Linked DNA regions of Homo sapiens: region 2 is linked to region 1. Evidence: promoter capture Hi-C in human tissues and cell types (Jung and others, 2019). All regions are on one chromosome and are shown on one strand. Each heading gives the region's core, a stretch centred on a gene start or on the middle of the fragment in contact. The rest is flanking DNA. Distances are from core to core; before and after follow the strand shown. Region 1 holds the start of KSR1 (kinase suppressor of ras 1). Region 2 overlaps KSR1 (kinase suppressor of ras 1).

What was found. The method cuts DNA at HindIII sites, captures the fragments that hold promoters and counts their contacts. A contact is called where the count stands out against the background at its distance.
Region 2: a fragment that was not itself captured here is called in contact with the fragment with the promoter of KSR1 in region 1 in 4 of the 25 tissues and cell types used here (hippocampus, neural progenitor cells, small bowel and 1 more).

Annotation. Positions count from the first base shown.
Region 1 is chr17:27,454,848-27,458,303 of GRCh38, forward strand. KSR1 (kinase suppressor of ras 1) reads left to right here and starts at 1,601. Exons shown (of 21, transcript NM_001394583.1): 1 at 1,601-2,027. The coding sequence starts at 1,797. RefSeq lists silencers at 1,131-1,890, 2,411-2,460 and an enhancer at 1,266-1,767. The HindIII fragment of the contact is 18,960 bases long and covers 1-3,456 here.
Region 2 is chr17:27,612,820-27,616,285 of GRCh38, forward strand. All of the region lies in intron 18 of KSR1 (kinase suppressor of ras 1), which reads left to right. It also overlaps the pseudogene ITM2BP1. Among named protein-coding and RNA genes, the nearest start is that of LGALS9, 17 kb to the right of the region's middle. The HindIII fragment of the contact is 8,988 bases long and covers 1-3,466 here.

The sequences.
Region 1 (3,456 bases), core at 351-2,850:
CACATTGCCCAGGCTGGTCTCGAACTCCTGGCTTTAAGTGATCCTTCCCCCTTGGCCTCTCAAAAGTGCTGGCATTACAGGCATGAGCCACGGTGCCCAGCCCTTAATTTATTTCGAAGGCTGGTGTAATATAAACATTAAAGGAAGGTGTAATACAAACTGCCATCCATTATTGATTGTTTTAGTGTCTACAAGGTTTGGATCCCACCTCCTGTCCAATTCTCATCCTCAAACACAAAAACAAAACCAAAAAAACAACTGTCTATCTACACACACACACACACCCTCGGCTGGCCTGAGAGGTAAAAGAAACATCCCATAGGACCTGCTGAAAGAGCTCCTGAGGCACGCTGGAGCCTTTCTTGTGTGCCATGCACTGTATCTGGCACTATAAAGAGGGTACAATAGCTAGTGGCTTCTGCAATCAAGCAGCTTACAAGAGAAAATTGAGAGGGGAGACATTTTTTCTGGTTGACAGATGTCGAAAGCATGAAGGTGTGGGAGCTTTGATCAGAGACTTGGTTTTTCAGTTTTGCCAGATAATAGAACGCATGGGGTGAACTAATGGGAGAGGAGGGTGAACAGATGGGCAAGGCTTGATTGCTGGGTTAGGAGGCACAGAAATGCACAGAGGACAAAGGACTACCAGTCCTTGGCAGTACTGTACTGCTCCATGGCCACTACCTGGGTCCAGGGCCACATTCAGATCTGAGGTTAGATAGTAAGAATTGCTAACATTTATCCAGCGACCACATGTGCCAGTAATCAATCTAGGTGCTGTACATGTATTAACTGATTCTTCATAGGAACCCTATTAAAGAGTTATTTGATGAGGAGAGTCGGGCATTCACTGGAAATCGAACGTGCCCAAAGTCTCACCCTAGACCGTGGTGGAGTCAGAATTTGAATCCTGGCCACTTGCTCCGAAGCCACCGACAATTCAGTGTGCTGTCCCCCGTGTCTGGGCTGGCTTGGTGGGCTGGGAATGGCGGGGGAATGGGACACTTATTTTGGCAGGTAAATGTGGTTCAGAAGAAAGCTCTTCGTCTTTCTCCAAGCCTGAGCAATCGTTTTGGCGCAGGCAGTCCAGAGTAGAGCGCTTTGTGAGCCAGCTACAGAAGTGCTGTAAGCCCCTTCCCACTAGATGGCAGCCCCTAAACCCACATACAAATCCTGGAACCTCCCTGGTCCCCATCTTCCAGGGCTGGGCTGCAGCTGAGGAACTGCGGGACGCACACCCGCCGGGCGTCCAGGGGGCGCCGCCCCATCCGGGGGTCGCGGGAAGCTCCTAGGCCGGGTGGGGGACGGAGGCGGACGGGGAGACGCTGCTCCCCCGACTCTCGGCGCCTGGGGGAGGAGCTGGCGCGGAGCAGCTCCACCCGGGGCTCCCGGTTGGGGCCGGCCCTCACCGCCTGCCTCGCCGCGGCCGCCGGGAGGGGAGGGGAGAGGAGGGCAGGGAGGGCGGCGCGGGCGCGGTCCGGGGCCCCGAGGGCGGAGGCCGGCGGCAGGTGCGCGGCGTGGACTACAAGTCCCAGCATGCCCGGCCGCCCTGACCCAGCCCCCGCCGCCGCTTAAAGGCTCCGGGAGCCGCAGCCGTCGGGTCGCCGCGGCTTTCGCTTTGCTGCCGCGGCTGGGAGGGTGGAAGCGGCAGACTCAGCGGCCGGCTCTACCGGCGTCCCGGCTCGGGCAGCGCCGAGGGGCGCTCCTGGTCCAGCTCTCCTGGCTCGGGGGTTCCTTGCCGAGGCGCCCGCGCCCCGGGCTCCCAGCCTCGGCCGCCGCGGCCCCGATGCCGAGGCATGGATAGAGCAGCGCTGCGCGCGGCGGCGATGGGAGAGAAGAAGGAGGGCGGTGGCGGGGGGGATGCGGCGGCCGCGGAGGGAGGCGCAGGGGCCGCGGCCAGCCGGGCGCTGCAGCAGTGCGGGCAGCTCCAGAAGCTCATCGACATCTCCATCGGCAGCCTGCGCGGGCTGCGCACCAAGTGCGCTGTGTCCAACGACCTCACCCAGCAGGAGATACGGACCCTGGAGGTAAGTGGGTCGGGGACCAGGCTGGGCTCGAGGAGCGGGCCCGGACACCTCCCTCCGGGCCCCAGTACTCCTGGCCGAGTTGCATCCTTGAGCCCGCGTCGCCCCCCTTGGAGGCTTCCCCTCCCTCCTGCACTCGCTGATGCGGCAGCCGGAGGACCCGGGACCAGCCCTCATCTTGGGCAGGATTTGTGGGGCGGGTGCGTCGTGGGAACTGGGATGGAGGCTCGAGGGGCCCGTGCGGGGTGGGCTGCGCGCGGACATCCCCTTTCCCCCCTTCTCCGCCCCCACCCCATTTCCAGTTTGCGGGGCCGCAGGACTCGTTGTCCCACCGAGTCACAAGCTGGACTTTTCCCCGTGTGACTGAGCCGAGCACCCGTGGGCCAGGGTGACGGAGGAGGTTCCCCTGAAGCGTGATCGCAGGCCTGCCGTCCCCTGTTCCCCTCACGCCCCAGACGCCGTCCTGTCCCTTCCTTTCCTCTCCTCTCAGGTCTTGTCTGCCGCCTTTTCAAAAAGTGTTGCTGAAACTGCATTTTTGTTATTCAGGCGTTTGGTGCTTTCCTTTCACGTTGCCACGGAGGCTCGCTGCTTAAAATGTATTAATAATTACCCGCTGACTCCCCCTGCTTCCCCCCAAAGATTGGATTTAGGCTTAGGAAGGATTATGCTGGGAAGCAAGCCTTTGGTGGGAAGATGAAACTGTTTAAAGGGTTCTGATGGAGACAGTCTGGAGTGTAAAGAAGAAATAAGATATGCGGGCCTTCCTCTCTCAAATTATAGCTGGGGAAGTATCTGAAGGATTTGGAAAAACCAGCCCGAGGGTTGTTGGGGCACCCTGTCCATACACAAATGAGGGCAACTAGTGGATTCTGAATGTGATTTTGGCCAGGGACGGGGCGGTGAAACGTCAGACCAGTTAATAGCTGCCCCGTCTTGAAGAAGGAACCTCTCACCATCTTGCCCTGCCACATCTGGCCTCCTGCAGGTCTGGGGATGTTTTGTTTTATTAGATCCTCAATTTCTCCTCCCCCAAACCCTCCCCCCGCCCCTTATTGCTAATTGCCTCTGCCAGCTGTCATAAGGCCCTCTGTGATCGCGGTAATTATTACAAGACCAATCCTTCCTCCAGGCATGCCACAAAGCCGAATCCTTGTTTGATTCCAAATGCTCGGGGGTGACTCTCCCTCAGTTTTATTTTCTTAAAAGCTATAAAACCACAGGACATTGGAAGAATACAGTCAGTGCTGGGTATTATTATTTTTTATTACAGTTGGCTAAAGCTGTACTGACCAAGGCTTTGCTTAAAAAACAAACAAAACCCCCTACAACTGGCCTTTCTGCATGCATGCTGCAGTTTTCCAAGTATTGAGAGAAACTGATTTTTTGAACACAGCTGAGTGTGTTTGCTCAGCAAAGTTCAGTTTTTAAGCTG
Region 2 (3,466 bases), core at 966-3,465, 160 kb after region 1:
AGGTCATGAACATTGCTGGCAGGATCACTGTCTGTCTGCAGACTCTGTCTGCAAATTTGCAGTGATGAATTCAACCTCATCGTCCTCCAAGTTCTTAATAGATGGTAATATTTTTCTCAATTGACTGGTGGCAAGCAGCTAGGGCGTCTTCAGAAGGCTCACTCAAGATGACATTATATCTGATCTACTTTATTCCACAGTAGTATATGTCATCTTGTTGAAGTGCAAAATATTTGTACGGGGATGCCCCTCCAAAGATGACACCAAAATGCTATTTAACAACACGAACAGCAGGCTCCTCTTTGGCCAGTTGATACCATTTCATCTGGGGTGCTGGGCAAGGGCCATGGGTGATGAGCACTTCTCTGACACTCTGAGGCCCGTCCTTCTTGGCCTCCTTCTGGGCCAGGGCCAGTTAAACACCACCTTCACCTTGGTGCATCCTCGGGTGCCTTAGGAGCGTGTGGTGGTGATGCAGAATTTTTTGCTCCTTAGCTCAGCTAAAATCCAGGTTCTTGTCTCATGACCAGGAAAAATTAGGCATGCGGACACATTGAAAGGTGAGGAGAGTGGAATTCATTAAAAGAAACCTCTCAGCAAAAAAGAGGGGGTCCTCCCAACAGGCTCCCATCTCACAGATTGAATATCAGGCCACCACACACGAGCTGAAGAGGCCAGGCTCCTCCCCTGCATAAGGCGCGAATTCCTGGTGGCTCCACCCTATTCCCCCAGTGCATGTGGGTCTCCAGTCCATTGTGGGTGTACCCAGGCAAGACCCTGTGCAGGTTCCCTCATCTGCACAAAAACATCTGTTGTAAACACTTGTGGGGCAGGATGGAGGTTCTCCAGGGACCCTTCTTTATCTGCCTCCTGCAACTGTCAGTGGGCTCAAGATACAGGTTTTGGGCTCCTGGCTGTGGCTGCAGCCTCCTTGGCTGAGCTCTGGGGCAGCTCAGATGGCAGCTGAAGTAACCACTGCTTTCCAGTCTTTTTAAATTTTTTTTGAAGCAGTTTTGCTCTGTCGCCCAGGCTGAAGTGCAGTGGCACGATCTTGGCTCACTGCAACCTCTGCTTCCCAGGTTCAAGTGATCTCCCGCCTCAGCCTCCAAGTAGCTGGGATTACAAGCATGCACCAAAATATCCAGCTAATTTTTGTATTTTTAGTAGAGATGGGGTTTCACCATGTTGGCCAAGCTGGTCTCAAACTCCTGGCCTCAAGGGATCCATCTGCCTCAGCCTCCCAAAGTGCTGGGATTACAGGCATGAGCCCCCATGCCTGGCATAGTCTTTTAAAAAAATATTTAAGACATACATATCATAAAACCTAGCTGATTTTTTTATTGTGACTTTTTCCACATGACATTTTATTATGCTCATTACCTCAAATCATTAACAAATCCTTATTGTTAAGACTGTCTGCCCTTATGTCCTGTGGCCGCACCATAATGTAACTACTTCTGTCACTGGACATGGGGATTCTTTCCAGTTTTAACCTCTCTTTACAAGAGTTAGCAAGGACATCTTTGTATAAACCAGAGTATTATGTATATTTGTTGCATCTGAGAGAAAAGATATTCTTCGTTCTGCCCTCCTGGCAACAGTTTGTTTCCTTTCTGCATACTTAGCATCTTGGAGCAGAGAATGGTAAGTGCCATCTTCAGGGAGGCAAAGGCTGGAGCAGAGCTGAGCAAAGGGCTGCAAGGGAGTCAAGGCTCGGCACTGGCTGCAAGTTGGAATCATCTGGGAGCTTTATAAAAATGCCAGGGTTAAGGCCTCCCCCACAGAGGTACCAATTAAATTGGCCTGGGATGGGAATAAGATCATAGTTTTTTTATTTTTTATTTTTAAATAAAGCTCCTCAGATCATTCTAGAGCACAGCCAGAGTTCTGAACTAATTGGAAGGATTTCTTTTAGTGCGGGGTGATGGTTGTTTTGAGACCAGTGTGGGATCAGGGCGTGGGGAGTGGGGAGAGAGCAGATGCTCCGGCAGCAGCTTGTGGCTCACAGGAGTTCCCTTTCTTTTGTCCAGTCTTGCCTTCCCTTTTTAACACATTGCTATTAGGGGTAGGGGAACATTGGTCAACGCAATAAAATTATTTTCTGTCATAGACAAAAGCTGGGAGTGCCCTCTGAGTGATGCCTTTCTCTGTCTCTCCAGCCACACTGCTGTATAGTTCACCACCAGGCACTGCTTTATGTGCTGAGGCAGCCAGTGAGTTATTAATCATTGTATTTAAGGGTCCATGCATATGGGAAGACATCAAAAGACCAGAGGGTTCTTAATGAAAACCAGCAGTCCCTCACCCTAGATCATTCTCCAAAGGCATCACCTGGGTCTATCAGCTTTTCACTCTGGCACTCCGTTATTTCTGCTGCACCACTTTGGTCAGCTCTCCCATTACTTATTGTTAAGGTTGCCATGATTAAATCTTCCATGCTGTGCCTGTTGATGGAGGCTGAAAGTGAAAAGATGATGAACAGTGTATACACTACTATAGTAGACTGTAAGTGGTATTAGCCACTGGTCAGATGATTCACTGGGATTACATTTTCTTTGTGGGTCCATCTCTTCCACTTCATCAATTACTCAAAGGCTCACAATTTTGTTGGCTTCACATTTGGACCATGGCTTTCTTGTGCAGTTTAGGTTTTTCCTGTAGTTTCTAATTGCCTTCTTTTTTCCTTCTTGCCTTTTCTTATTGCTGAGAGAAGAAACAAACACCTTTCTCATATTCCTGAGGTCTTTCAGCTTCTGCATTCTGCTTCCTAAATGGAATCTGTTACATTCTTTTCAGAGTCCACTGGTTTCTTGTCGTTGGAATCAATGGGATATTAGGCCTGCTGCACAGCTGTTACCCTTCTGTTTTCTTTTCATTCACTCCTGGGTCAGTTGCACTATTCTTTATGTCTCATATCGTGCCCTCTCTTTATTTGCACTCCAGCAAATAAACTGCGAGTGAAACCTGAAAAAACTGCCTCCCAGTGGAAGAATGGGAGATAATCTTTGAATCCTTGCATGCCTAAAATAGTTATTATTTCATCCTCATATCAGGAGTAGAATTCCAGATTCATAATAATTTTCCCTGAGAACACAGGGATTTTGCCCTGCTGTCTACTAAGTGTCCAGTGCCTTGTTGAGAAGTCTGGTGTTGGTCTGATTCTCAACCATTTGTGGATGCCTATCTTACTCTTTCTGGAAGCATCTAGGATTTTCTGTTTATGCCTGCTATAGTGAAATTTCATAAACATATATCTGAGGGTAGAGTTTTTTTGTGTGTTTGTTTGTTTTTTAACTGTTTTTAGTGAGGTCCCTTTATTGGACCTTTTCAGCTGAAGACAGCTGCTACCTTTGAAAGCTTCTGGTAAATTTTCTTTTATTATTTCTTTGATAATTTCCTGCCCAATAGTCTGTTTACTTTTGTGGAAATCCCCATTAGACAGAATTTGGTTCTTCTTAGTGAGCCT